Linked DNA regions of Homo sapiens: region 1 is linked to region 2. Evidence: promoter capture Hi-C in 16 types of primary human blood cells and fetal thymus (Javierre and others, 2016). All regions are on one chromosome and are shown on one strand. Each heading gives the region's core, a stretch centred on a gene start or on the middle of the fragment in contact. The rest is flanking DNA. Distances are from core to core; before and after follow the strand shown.

Region 1 (7,193 bases), core at 3,550-6,049, 110 kb before region 2:
TGAGATTATAACCATAATAGTAGGGAATCATGGAGGAATTCTCTGAAATTCATGATTGATACCTGGAATGGTGATGAGGGCAAAGAAGCTAGTGTGGGTAAAGGGCATCTCTTTTTTCGGGTCGCTCAGCAAATTACAAAATACCCGCCTTTTCTGAGTATAGCAGGGCCTGGGCTGGGGCGTTAATTGGGTAGCTCTGGAACTGAATGTCAAGCCAGAGGCTAGCACCACCTAGTGGTCAGTTAAGGAAGTGTGCGTAGGAAGGGTATCCCGGAAAGGTCTGATGGCAGGCGGAGAGAGGGAAAAGGACCAGTATTTATTGAGCGCATACCATGTCCCAGGCCCACGCAGTGGACTTTATTTACAGTATCAGCTCACTTAAGTCTACCTTTTGTCATGGGTGTTATTTCCAGTGTGTATAAGAAAATAGAATGTTCTGAGAGATTAAAGAATCTGTCCCAAATAATGGTGCAGATCCAAGCCCAGATTTCATTCACTTAATAAAAATATTAGGTACCTCGTATAAGCAAGTACATTGCTAGGCACTAGGGATAAGAGACGGAAACACACAGTCTCAGCCTTCAAGAAGCTTTCAGGTTAGCTGGGTGCTCAACAAGAGACAGACAATGACAATACAGTCAGTTCCTTAACACCTGTGATGAAGGCATGTGCAGAAGGGCATGGGAACATGGGAAGGATACCTCTTCCAGACAAGGTGGTCAAGACAGAGAGCAGCAGATGATGCCAGGCTAAATGTTGAATGAGAGGAAGAAAATGACAACCAATAACAAAAGGAAAGGGTGTTTTAGGCTGGATGGCAGGAAAGGCATTGGAGGCATGAGAAGTTTAAAACATGTGAAGAACATCAAATATGGTATCATAGCTGAAGTTTAAGGTACTTTGAGGGGAGAGTGTTGGATGAAGTATCAGAAAGCCTAATCACAAAGCGTGATTTTAGCCACAGTAAGGACTTAGAATTTTTTTTCTAGAAGTAGTGTAGAGCCAGTTGAGAAATTGGTGAAGTCCTTAATGCATGAGTGATGGAGCTGGAGAGGAAGAGGATTCAGAAACAATAAAGAAGTAGGATCTAGTATACTAACCAGTTAACTGTATAGGCCTGAAGATAGTGACAGAGAAATCTGAGTCTAGAAAATTTGGCTCACATTAGAATCACCTGGAGAGTTTTTAAAAATCCCAGTGCTGTGGTGGCATGCATCTGTAGGCCCAGCTACTCAGGAGACTAAGGTGGGAGGATTGCTTGAGCTCAGGAGGTTGAGGCTGCAGTGAACCTGATCACTGCATGATCATGCCACTGCACTCCAGCCTGGGTAACAGAGTGCAACCCTGTCTCAAAAAGAAAAATAAATGAATCAATGCTGGAGGATTTATGCTACTTGATTTCAAGACTTGTAAGTGACAGTAATCAAGACTATGTGGTGCTAGCATGAGAATTGACAAACAGATCCATGGAGCAGAATAGAGAACCAGAAATAGACTCACAATCATTTGATTTTTTAATAAAAATTCTATATGCGTTTATTATTTTATAATGTTACTTTTATATACTTTTATCTTGGAATTATTTTTCGTTTGATTAGTTTTCTATGCATCTATCATTTTCCCCAAATATCTCAACATAATTTTAAAAAATCAGATAGTTGTTTGATTTCTTATTGCAATTCCTTTGTGTTTACCACCCCTCCACCCTGCTCATCCCTATCTCACCCTGTGCAACTTCTGCATTCTTGCTTCAATGTTGACTAGGCACAGGCTTCGTTTTTCTTTTTGAGACAGAGTTTTGCTCTGTTGCCCAGTCTGGAGTGCAGTGGTATGATCATAGCTCACTGCAGCCTCAACCTCCTGGGCTTAAACTATTTTCCCCTGTCAACTTCCCAAGTAGCTGGGACTACAGACACATGCCACCATGCCTGGCTTCAGCATCCATTCTTAAACTCCTTTTCACCATTGATCTGGGATTTTACTCTTAGCTGGAACCTGTCTGAGACCCGACTATTGGAGGTCTCTTACTGCTGGAGGATGGTATCTCTGGGAAAGGCCCACTCCCAGACCCAGGAATGTAGGATCCATCTCAGTGCAGCTTTTCTCAGCTCTCTACTTGTCTGGGGTACCACACTTCTCAACCGGATTCTGTACTTCTCATAAAGGTATTTTGATCAGTAAATTGTTAAATCTGTGTTTCTGTGAGGGGATGAGAGGCGGGACTTCGTATTGCACCAACTGGCTGATCCCACTGTAAAGGTCATTTGATTTTGGCAAAGATGTCAAAGCCAGCCAGTGGAGAAAGGAATGTCTGTTCAATAAATAGTTATGGAACAACTTCATATCTATATGGGAGAAATAAATGAACCTTGACCCCTACCTCACACCATATGCAAAAATTAATTCAAGATTGATTATAGGCTGGGCCCAGTGGCTCACACCTGTAATCCCAGCACTTTGGGAGGCTGAAGCAGTTGAATCACCAGAGGTCAGGAGTTCAAGACCAGCCTGCCCAACATGGTGAAACTCTGTTTCTACTAAAAATACACAATTAACAGGCCAGGCATGGTGGCTCACACCTGTAATCTCAGCACTTTGGGAGGACAAGGCGGGTGGATCATCTGAGCTCAGTTCAAGACCAGCCTGGCCAACATGGCAAAACACTGTCTCTACTAAAAATACAAAAATTAGCTGGGCATGGTGGTGCATGCCTGTAATCCTAGCTACTCAGGAGGCTGAGGCAGGATAATCGCTTGAACCTGAGAGGCGGAGGTTGCAGTGAGCTGAGATCACACCACTGCACTCCAGCCTGAGTGACAGCGAGACTCTGTGTCAAAAAAATTAATTAATTAAAAAAATAAAAATACAAAAATTAGCTGGGTGTGGTGGTGGGCACCTGTAATCCCAGCTACTCAAGAGGCTGAGGCAGGAGAATTGCTTGAACCCAGGAGGTGGAGGGTGGAGTGAGCCGAGATCGCGCCACTGCACTCCAGCCTGGGTGACAGAGCGAGACTCCGTCTAAAAAAAAAGATTGATTATAGACCTAAACCACAAATGCTAAAATCATAAAGCTTTTAGACAAAAACACAGAATATCTTCATAATTTGGAGGAAAGCAACCCCTTCTTAAGCTATAGAAAGCAATAACATAAATTTCTTGATAAGTGAAACATCAAAATAGAAAACTTTTGCTCGTCAGAAGACATCATTATGGAGTAATCCCAGCACTTTGGGAGGCTGACATAGAAGAACTGCTTGAGGCCAGGAGTTTGAGACCAGCCTGGCCAACAAAGCTAGACTCTGTCACTACAAAAAATTTAAAAAATTAGCCGAGTGTGATGGTGTGCACCTGTAGTCCCAGCTACTCCAGAGGCTGAGAAGAGAGGATTGCTTGAGCCCAGGAGTTAGAGGCTGCAGTGAGTTGATTGTGCCACTGCACTCCAGCCTGAGTGACAGTGAGACCCTGACTCAAAAAAAAAAGACATTATTATGAAAATGTGGAAGTAAGCCAAATAGATAGACAAAACATTGATCTGAGAAGGGACAGAGGAATGCGAGATATATTAAAAATTCCTATAACATAGTAATAAAATGACAACCCAATGAATGGACAATAAGCATATGAAAGGTACTCGAGGCTAGGTGCAGTGGTGCACGCCTGTAATCCCAGCACTTTGGGAGGCCAAGGTGGGAGGATCGCTTGAGGTCAGCAGTTTCAGACCAGCCTAGGCAATATATCGAGACCTCATCTCTACAAAAAGTCCGGGCGTGGTGACTCACGCCTGTAATCCCAGCACCTTGGAAGGCCGAGGCGGGCGGATCACGAGGTCAGGAGTTCAAGACCAGCCTGGCCAATGTGGCCATACCCTGTCTCTACTAAAAATACAAAAATTAGCTGAGCATGGTGGTGGGCACCTGTAATCCCAGCTACTTGGGAGGTTGAGGCAGGAGAATCACTTGAACCCAGGAGGCAGAGGTTGCAGTGAGCTGAGATTGTGCCATTGCACTCCAGCCTGGGCAACAAGAGCAAGACTCCATCTCAAAATAAATAAATAAATAAAATTTAAAAATGATCTAGATATGGAGGTGCATTCCTGCAGTCCTAGCTACTCAAAAGGCTGAGGCAGGAGGATTGCTTGAGCCTAGAAGGTTGAGGCTGCAGTGAGCAGTGATTGTGCCACTGTGCTCCAGCCTGGGCAACAGAGTGAGACCCTGTCTCAAAAATAAAAAGAAAAAAGAAAAAGAAAAGAACTCAACATCTTTAGTTATTAAGAAAATGCAAATTATGCCAGGCACGGTGGCTCACGCCTGTAATCCCAGCACTTTGGGAGGACGAGGCAGGAGGATCACAAGGTCAAGAGATCTAGACCATCCTGGCTAACATGGTGAAACCCTGTCTCTACTAAAAATACAAAAAATTAGCTGGGCGTGGTGGCGGGCGCCTGTGGTCCCAGCTACTCGGGAGGCTGAGGCAGAAGAATGGCATGAACCCAGGAGGTGGAGCTTGCGGTGAGCCGAGATCGTGCCACTGCACTCCAGCCTGGGTGACAGAGCAAGACTCCGTCTCAAAAAAAAAAAAAAAAAAAAGGAAATTATATCCATAGTGTGATACCTCTCAATACTCACCAAAATGATTAAACTTTAAAAAACTGACAATACCAAATGTTAGTGGGAATACAGAGCAACTGGAACTCTCATACATCATTAGTGGGAATGTAAAATGTACTATCAATTTGGAACAATATGTAGCAGTTTCTTATAAAACTACACATACACCTACCCTGTGACTCAGCAATTCTATTCCTAGTTATTTATCCAAGAGAAATGAAAGCATATGTTCACACACAGACTTGAACACAGAATATTCATAGCAGTTTTCTTCACAGTAGCCAAAAGCTGGCTATAGCTCAGGTATCCTTCATTTGAAAAAGGATAAACAAACTGTGGTATAGATCCACCATGGGACACTACTCAGCAAGAAAAATGAAAGAACTATGGATACATGCAGCAACATGGATGAACCTCAAAACATGTTGCGTAAAATAAGCCAGACATAAAACTACATCCTATATTACTCTACTTAAAAAAAAAAATCAGAACAGTGGCTTCCCCTGTGGGTTGGGGTGAGGGTAATGATCCACATCTTGATAGAAGTTTGGGTATTACAAAGCAACCACCTGGTAGGGCAGAGATTTGAACACAGGTGGTCTGCCAGCGGCCAAGGTTTTAATCACCATACTACATAGCCTTGCCCAGGCTGTGGAGCCTCAGATGTGGATGAGATCACACAGAAAGAGTGTCCCGTGAAGACAGGAGACTGAGAGGGAGGACGCAGAGAGGTAGGCCGAAGACCAAGAAAGGAATCATGAAAAGTAGTTGGGGGAGAACTTACTCAAGAATGGCTAACAGTGTTGAGTACTGCTGAAAGGCCCAGCAAGAGAAAGACAGGAATGTGCCATCATTCAAGGCCCCTAGGAGGGTGTATGTGACATGGGCCAGGACAGTTTCATGACTGGTGGGGGCAGCAGCCAGCTGGCAGTGTAATGAGGAAGTAAGGAAGAGAAGACTGAATATGAATAATTTTCCCAAGATGCTTGGCTGCACAGGGGAAGGGAGAGAGGCAAGACAGTAATTAGAGAACTGAGATTTCCTTGCAGAGGCACAATCCTGACCACAGCTGACTCCATCCAGAGCTGCTTGACTTTGCCCATTCACCAGGATGGCTAACTTGTCCTTCTGTGAAGTAAAGGTCGGTTGGCCACAGTAAGCCTCTGACAGCCTGAGGGCTCCATTTGAAGCCTTGAGATCAGCTGACTCCACCATTGCTCACATCCTGTCATCCTTGGCAGGCCTTGATTGGCATCCATCCTTCTCCACTAAGTCCAGTCCTTCCTCCTCCTAACACTGTTATACTGCTCTCCACCCATCTCCTTGCTTGAAGCCTGGGGCCACCCCTGGCTCACATTATCCTGGCCCCTCTTGGCTTGTCTGGAACCTGATCCTTCCTTGAGAACATTCCTCCTTTAATGAGGTATCGCTTATTCTCTCAAGTGTATAGGGCGGGTGGTAGTGGGAGGATGGGCAGGCAGCCCACCCTGGAGTCTCCATTTCCTGTGGCGATATAGCTTCACCATGGTCTTAGTTAGGGATGCATTTAGCAGCAAGTAATGGAAGACCCAATTAAAGCAGGCTCAACAATGAGGAGTTTTATAGCAGGTCCAGGGCTGGTTGATTCATCAAAGGTTTTCCACCTCTTCACACTCATACTTTATCCTCATTGGTTGGTGGTATCTCCCCTCCCAGTTGCAACGTGGTTGCAGCTATTCCAATCCTAAAAGTGAACATGGCACTGAAGAAGAACAAAATCTTTCCCAGAAGCCCCCTAAGTCCTATTGGCCAGGATTGGGTCACTGGCCAAGGGAATAGAAATACTGTGATTGGCTATGCCAATTAGATTCACCCCGTGAATACATAGGAGGGGGACACCTGTGTGAAATCCAGACTTTGCTAGCAAGGGAGAAAAGCTTGGCTGCTGAATAGGCACCACCAGTGCTTGCCTCAGTAGTCACATCAAATTCCTCTTCCTTTAAGAGCCAACTATTTCACCTTCCATTGGGATGTGCAACATAGGGCTTAAGGGCAACATTTCTGGTGCCAAACTAACTGGATTTGAATCCCAGCTCTCTCACCTTAGCCTTGAGCAAGTTGCTGAGTTTTCCATGCCAGTTTCCTCATTTGTAAAATGAGGGTTATCAGCACTATCCAATAGAATTTTCTGTGATGATGGAAATGCCCCGTGTCTGTTTTAATATAGTAGCCACAAGTCATACATGGCTATTGCACATTTGAAATGTGGCTGATACATCAGAGGCATTGAATTTTAAAATTGAAATAGCCACAAGTGGTTAGTAGCTACTGTAGTGGGCACATAGTTCTAGCTCATAGTATTATTGTAGGATAAAAAGTACAGTGCTTCAATTTTAGAGTAAGAATTGAAGTAACACATAAAGCCCCACTAAGTGTTAGTTATTATTTTTGCTGTTATCCACTGATGTCCTGGTCACTTTATCCGTGAAGTCTTTGTTTATTTTATTTTATTTTAATTTTTTTGAGACAGGCTCTCACTCTGTTGCCCAGGCTGGAGTGCAGTGGTGCAATTATGGCTCACTGCAGCCTTGACATCCTGGGCTCAGG
Region 2 (6,750 bases), core at 4,012-6,511:
AATGTGAATCCTGGATCTGCCACTCTATCTGTATCTTTTTGGCCAAGGTACATATCCTCCTGTGCTTCAGTTTCCTCATCTGAAAAATGAAAGTGATAATAGTATCTCACAGGGTTGTGGTTTTGAGGATTGAGTATAGGTAAAGTGTTCAGAACAGTGCCGGGTGCACAGTGCTGTGTGCCAATTTTATGATAATTGTCCCAGTTTGGGAGGTATGGGGGATGTCCTAATGTTTCCCCTGACTGGCTCTGTCTGGACCCCAGGCCTGAGTGGGCTGACAAATTCCTCACTTGGTATGCGAGTGTAAGAGTCCCCCAGGGAAGTGTCTAGTCAAAACACGAACCTTCCGCCTTGACACTGTCTTCCCACACACAGCAAGAGCAGCTCCACCAATGGCTTTCTTTTCACTAGCTTCCAAAGAATTGGGGTGGAGGGAGTGAAAAGGAGAGGGAGAGAGATTGGGAAGGCTCGTAATCATGGAGAGCCTCCTGCTTTTCTCTCTGTGTCCCTGTTACCCATACTCACTGGTCTCAAGGTGGCACGCCCAAGACCCAAGGAGCTGGTGCTTGATGATGCTGCCTGTGCATGAATTCCTGGGACCAGAGACTGAGTCTGGCCCCCCATTTAGTGTTGGGTGAGAGGGCACAAAGAGCTATAATAACTGTAACTTGCTGATTACATGGTAGTTACTGTATCATTTTGCTCTCATTAGATGGTTATTTCAGTCCTGCCGACGGCCAGATAATTATACGAGCAGCTATATCTGGATGACATACTCTGCTCCAGCGTTATGCACTGGCCATAAAGATAATTACAGTGCAATTTTGCTATAGTATTTTATACAAATGGCAAAAACAAGTGCATTGTGGAAATCTACTTTTAATGCTTGTTTGTGCATCCAGGCTCTTTCAGAGGGACCCATAATTGCAGCTTTCATAATCTTACCATTGAGGGAGCATTCCCAACCTGTTAGGTGTCAGGCAGAATAGGACATAAGGTTTCTGGGAGCTGGCATTTAAAGATTAGATGAGATGGATCAACACAGATCATTGTGTCATCTGATTTCATTCATGTGAAACTGTAAGTAATCCCTGGGCCTGTGCTTCCTCTGGGAGGTTTCTGGGAAGAGGAGGAACTGGATAAGGCAGGGGGAGCATTCATAGTAGGGCACCTTGGGCAGGGCTGTGTGTGTGTCTGGCTCATGGTGGTGCTAGGATGGCATGAACTTGGTTCCTACATCTTTGGTCCACATGGGCCCCACTGGCCATGCACACAGGTGTGTAGAGTAATGTAAATATGGCAGCTGGGAAGGTGCAAGTACCTGCGGCTAGGAGAGTTCCATCCTCAGGCCCAAAGCCTGGAGGGCAGGCTGAGGGTCAAGACTTGTTCTTTCCTCTCTCACAGACGCCTCTCCCCTTCTCTCCTGCTGCCACAGCAGGTTTTCAGTGGGACTTTTTTACAGGATATAAGATGTGATTTCAGTGTTTTTTTTTGTTTTGTTTTGTTTTTTGTCCTCAGTACTCCACTTCCGGACTCCTGGACTGCATTAGGAAGACCTCTTTCCCTGTCCCAATCCCCAGGTGCGCACGCTCCTGTTACCCTTTCTCTTCCCTGTTCTTGTAACATTCTTGTGCTTTGACTCCTTCTCCATCTTTTCTACCTGACCCTGGTGTGGAAACTGCATAGTGAATATCCCCAACCCCAATGGGCATTGACTGTAGAATACCCTAGAGTTCCTGTAGTGTCCTACATTAAAAATATAATGTCTCTCTCTATTCCTCAACAATAAAGGATTTTTGCATATGAATGATGTGGTGTGTGTGTTTACTTGTTTGGTTGGTGGGTTTTTCTGTTCCTTGACTCCTCCAGCTACATGGTAAATACACACATACTTATGATACACACACTTCATATTTAAATGTAAATAACTTTACATATCTTTTTGTATATATCTATTTCCTGAACAGTGCCTTACACAGTGCTTTGCACGATGAGTATCAGATTTATTTAGTGATTAAAATAAATACACGAATTTGGAAGATGGTTTCTAACACACAAAGATTTTTACAGACCAGTTTTAGATAAAGAAAAAACAGGCCGGGCCCGGTGGCTCACGCCTGTAATCCCAGCACTTTGGGAGGCCGAGGCGGGTGGATCACGAGGTCAGGAGGTCGAGACCAGCCTGACCAACATGGTGAAACCCCTTCTCTACTAAAAATACAAAAATTAGCCAGGCATGGTGGCGCATGCCTGTAATTCCAGCTACTTGGGAGGCTGAGGCAGGAGAATCGTTTGAACCCAGGAGGCAGGGGTTGCAGTGAGCCGAGATCACGCCACTGCACTCCAGCCTGGGCAACAAGAGCAAAAAACTCCGTCTCAAAACAAAACAAACAAACAAAAAAAACAATAAAAAAAGAAAAAGAAAAAGAAAAAAAATATTCAGAATGACTTGTATTACTAGGATGGGTCTGGGAGATATTCATTCCTGAATCTGACCCTACTTAATTAGAGAAGGAGGTGGGGATCAAGGCTGTCCGGAGACCCAGCCACAGAGGAGGACAAATCTATGACCCTATACAATTTTTTTGTCTCCAAATGCTGAGCCTGGGTTCTGTGACAGATCCTGGGGATGAAATGATGACTCATACACAGAGTTTACAGTTTAGCAGGGCTGTGGACAAGCAAACAGAACTTGATCCAGCTAGGATGGGATGTGGACAGGGAAGTTACTACCGAGGCCAAGAAAGAGAGGAGCAGATATCTTCACCGTTAACTGGCTGCCTTAGTTATTATAAAGGGAAAACATTTATCTCCCACTCCTCTCTAAAGTGCCTGTTACCAGCTCCTGCAGCTCTGACTTAACAGTCCCCAGAATGTGTAAGGCACTTACATGTGGTATGCATGGGTATGGATGTCTTTTACTAATCTATGATGTCAACTATCACCCGCCATCCTAAGGGGGGTTCTGTACCCTAATGGAACAGCCAGTGAAATCCTCAGGCTCCTTATCTTAGCGTGGTACAGGGGCCTTTGTTATGCCCCTGAATTGCACTGATAAAACATCAACACATAGATTTCCCAAGGCAGTGTAAGGACAGGGCCACAGAGCCAGAGGCCACTTCCTGCAGTCCTTTCATTCTAGTGAAAATTCTATCTTCCTACAGCCTGACTTGGGGCCACTTTGGAATGACAGCTGTATAGTGGGGGGCGGGGAAAGGAGGGAATACTCACCCTAGTATTACTTATGTCAGCTTTATAGCCAGAGGTCAAAGAATGCCCCCACCCCAGAGCCTAGACCCTTTTTCCAGTGAGTCATCTCTTTGACTTTTCAAAATTATCTATCTATAGGGCTTAAAACTGGGGACACTTTTGCAGAGTCTAGGGGCTTTCTCTGGGTCATGAAAGCTACAAGAGTTGGTTCTGCTCAGACTTGGTGGGAGTTAGGCTTATAGGCTGAGATGAGACAATTGCTTTGCAAGTAGGAACATTAAGTGCAGAAAGATTGCTCTCTAGTGGGACTGACAAAAATTGCAGTACTGGGGACTCCAGAAAAAAATGAAGACAAATGTTAAGTTAGATTCCTGTGTTTGTACTTGAAGAATGTGTGAAGGGATCCTGACCCTCCCTTTCCTGTTGTAAAACAGTTGATGCCTAAAGAGATCTGGTCCACAAGACCTTGACTAAATTCCTGGCCCTTTCTTCTCCATTTAACTTTGTATATGTTTGTTATTGTGACTATATGGTGATTTACTTTAAAAAGACTTCAGTATAAGTGGTATATACTTTCACCTGCGTCTTTTGGATGATTTGTTTTCATGTGAAGTTTATTGGGGTCAACCCTCCAGAGATGGCTGGGGCAGTTGGTTAGAAAGACTGTATAGGCCCAGGCCCTTGCAAGCCCAGCAGCCCTCTGTCTCCAGAGTCATGCTGGAGGTCTGGACCTGCTGGCTGTGTGATATTCCACTTTAGGGAGACTCAGTCACCTTGCACAACTGTGAGAGCTGGGCCTGCCACTGAAACATTGTGTCAACCTCTAAGTGACCCTTTCACTAGATGGTAAAGTGAGATGCCTCATCCCCAAACTATAAGAACAGTTCTATGGCTGTTTTTGTATCTCCTGGCTAACAAATGTTACATGTTTGGCAGCATTTGGTATAGTGCTTGCTTTCAGTATAGTCTGCCACCAGTTAATGAGGTTGTGGAAAGGAGGACACACAATCTCCCAAATTCATCAAGAGAATGGACAATTGCTGAATGGCCAAACTGGCTTAGATCTGTTGGCAACATTCAGTGTGTCCCTTCCTTTCCACTTATCCATCAAGGAATTACTGAATCCTACCATGCGCCTGTCCTGGGAGTTTGTCCTTGGCTGCAAGCTATTTTCAGGCAGTGACTGGGATGGGATGGGAGAGAGGATGAAACTGAAGGGTCTTGGAGCCTAAGAGCTTCCTCTGTACTGAGGGAGGGAGGGCGACATGACGAAGACTTCTAATGTCTTTGGTGGTGGTGGGTGGGGCAGGCAGTGTAGGTGGTTTTCGTTTGATGACAATTCTTGGGCAGAAGCATTTGAAAAGATGATTTGGGAGAAGGGTGGGGAGGAAGAGTGATCGAGTTCTACACAGAGTTGGGGAGGGCAGGCTTCAGGAAGCAGGCCTGGGGTGCCAAAGTACAGTGAGATCCGGTGACTTTCTTCATTTGGCCACCTAGATGGAAGGAGGGACAGCAGTGGATTATCAGAAGGGTCCAGTAGTAGCGGTCTAGCCCTCAAGTGCTCCTTCATTCATTCAAGCAGGCTTAATGTATTAAGCACTTATTGTGCCAGGAAGTGTGGTAAGGGTCAGTGTGGACCTGCGGCCGTGTGCAAAGCCACAGATCCCTGCCTTCAGGAAGCCCACAGCCTAGTGGAGGAGATATATAGTAATCAAACAATCTTACAACATTTTGTAAAATGCCCATAGTAGATGTTCTGAGGAGAAGCTTTTGGAACTGTGAGCGTAGAACAGGGGAGGTGAAGAGAGTTTGGATAGGGTTTTTCACTCTTCAGGCACCAAGTCCCGCGCACAGTGGATGGGCGCTTAGAAAAAGCCAGCCTGGGGACTTGGAAGCCCCTGCACCCCTCGCGCAGGTCCTGGACCCGGCCCCGCCGTGGGGGGGCGCTGCCTCCTCCCGGGCGGCGGGGGGCGCTGCGGCCGGGCGGCGGGGGGCGCTGCCTCCTCCGGGACGGCGGGGGGCGCTGCGGGCCGGGCGGCGGGGGCGGCCCGGGCCGTCGCGGCGAGCCGCGCGGCGGATGGAGAGTCTGGCCGCGGCCGGCGGCGCCGCCTCCTCGTCGGGCCGGGCACGGCGGGCCGGGGCCTTTGTGTGAAGCGGCGGCGGCGATGGTGCTCGGGGCGCCGCAGAGCCGGGTAAGCGCGGCCAGGCCGAGGGCTGCCCCTGGCCGAAGCCCGACCTTCGGCCCGGCATTTATCTCGCTCTTGCTGGGGTCCCTCTTGCCCGCTCCCTTCGGCCGGACCCATCCTCCCCGCCCGCGCGCCGACCCCGGCCGGCCCCGCCGCCCCTCGCTTGGCCCCTTATTCAGCCCCATGCCCCCAACAGGCTCACCCGGGTGAGCCCCGCGCTGTTTGTGGAGGGACTGAGGCGCTCGTTGCCTCCAGAGGGAGCGCCCCAGCCGATGCAGCGCCCTTCCCTCCCAGATGCGACTCCGGAGGGGAGACCGCGGCGCCCGGGGATTGTTGGGGTGTCCTTGGAAGTTCCCAGCTTCCCCCTCTCCCACCCTCTCCTCTGGCTGCCCAGTGCTCCGACCCGCCCATCGTTCAGGGGTGGCCACCAGGGCCCGGGAGATGCTTGGCCGGTACCCCACAATACTTAGACGCTTCCTGGGCCCCAGAAAAAGTTGGGAGTTGTTAGAATCTGGAGAGATGGAGAAAGGGGCTGTGTTGGGCAGAGTTGTGAGACTGAACAGGGATGCAAGTAGCTCTTCTTCCTTAGTCGTGCAGGAGTCAGAAAGGGCAGAAAGTGGTAGTGAACAAGCCTCTAGGAGTCTTACCTGTATAATTAGAAGTCTTTCTTGCGGCATCAAGTAAATCTGTTAGTGCAGGGACAACAAAATATAAACCCCGAAAAGGGTGGCGAAAAAGAATACAACATATTAAAGTAATATTAAATACTACCACAGTTGTGTTCTACTTTTCTTACTGTGCATTCTGAGTGTTTTAACTTCACAGAATACAGGGACTGTGATAAAGCAATATCTGGAGGGGCTCTGGGTTATCGAAAGGCCAGAGAGCGGGTATGTAGTATAGGCAGAGAGAGATGGGGATTCAAGAACGTGAGATTTATTTGGAGATTATTGAGAGGTTGAAGACACAGCAATGACAAAGCTAAAAAACGGAACCACCTTATATGTTCCTCAGTAGCTAGTGGAGCTTTGATAGTTGTGTTCAAGCATGTGCATGGTATTTGGCATCATGAGGGAAAAGAATATGCTCAATGAATTAGGAAAGCTTGTATTTGGGAGGAAATTAATAGGAGAAAAATTTGATCCAGTGGCTCTGGTAATGAAGTATAAGATTGTGTCCAAGGGAATGCCTCTGGTTCGTCTCTAGGCACCAGCTTAAAACCAAGCTATCAGATTGTCATCAGTCGTTTTGGTTTTTGTCATAACTCTTTGAGTATATACAGGGGGAGATGTCATTGCCTTGTCATAATGGAGGAACTCTCCATGCCAGTTTACTCCTGATCCCTACCTGGGGC

The links. The method cuts DNA at HindIII sites, captures the fragments that hold promoters and counts their contacts. A CHiCAGO score of 5 or more calls a contact.
Region 1: a fragment that was not itself captured here is called in contact with the fragment with the promoter of ZBTB39 in region 2 in 9 of 17 cell types (erythroblasts, naive CD4 T cells, endothelial precursors and 6 more); the score reaches 8.3 in erythroblasts.

The regions. Positions count from the first base shown.
Region 1 is chr12:57,117,491-57,124,683 of GRCh38, reverse strand. No RefSeq gene overlaps it. Among named protein-coding and RNA genes, the nearest start is that of LRP1, 7.4 kb to the left of the region's middle. RefSeq lists an enhancer at 5,546-5,735. The HindIII fragment of the contact is 3,452 bases long and covers 3,074-6,525 here.
Region 2 is chr12:57,005,057-57,011,806 of GRCh38, reverse strand. It overlaps ZBTB39 (zinc finger and BTB domain containing 39), which reads left to right and starts at 5,261. Exons shown (of 2, transcript NM_014830.3): 1 at 5,261-5,402. It overlaps TAC3 (tachykinin precursor 3), which reads left to right. Exons shown (of 7, transcript NM_013251.4): 7 at 1,519-1,807. RefSeq lists silencers at 5,063-5,422, 5,443-5,592. The HindIII fragment of the contact is 1,523 bases long and covers 4,980-6,502 here.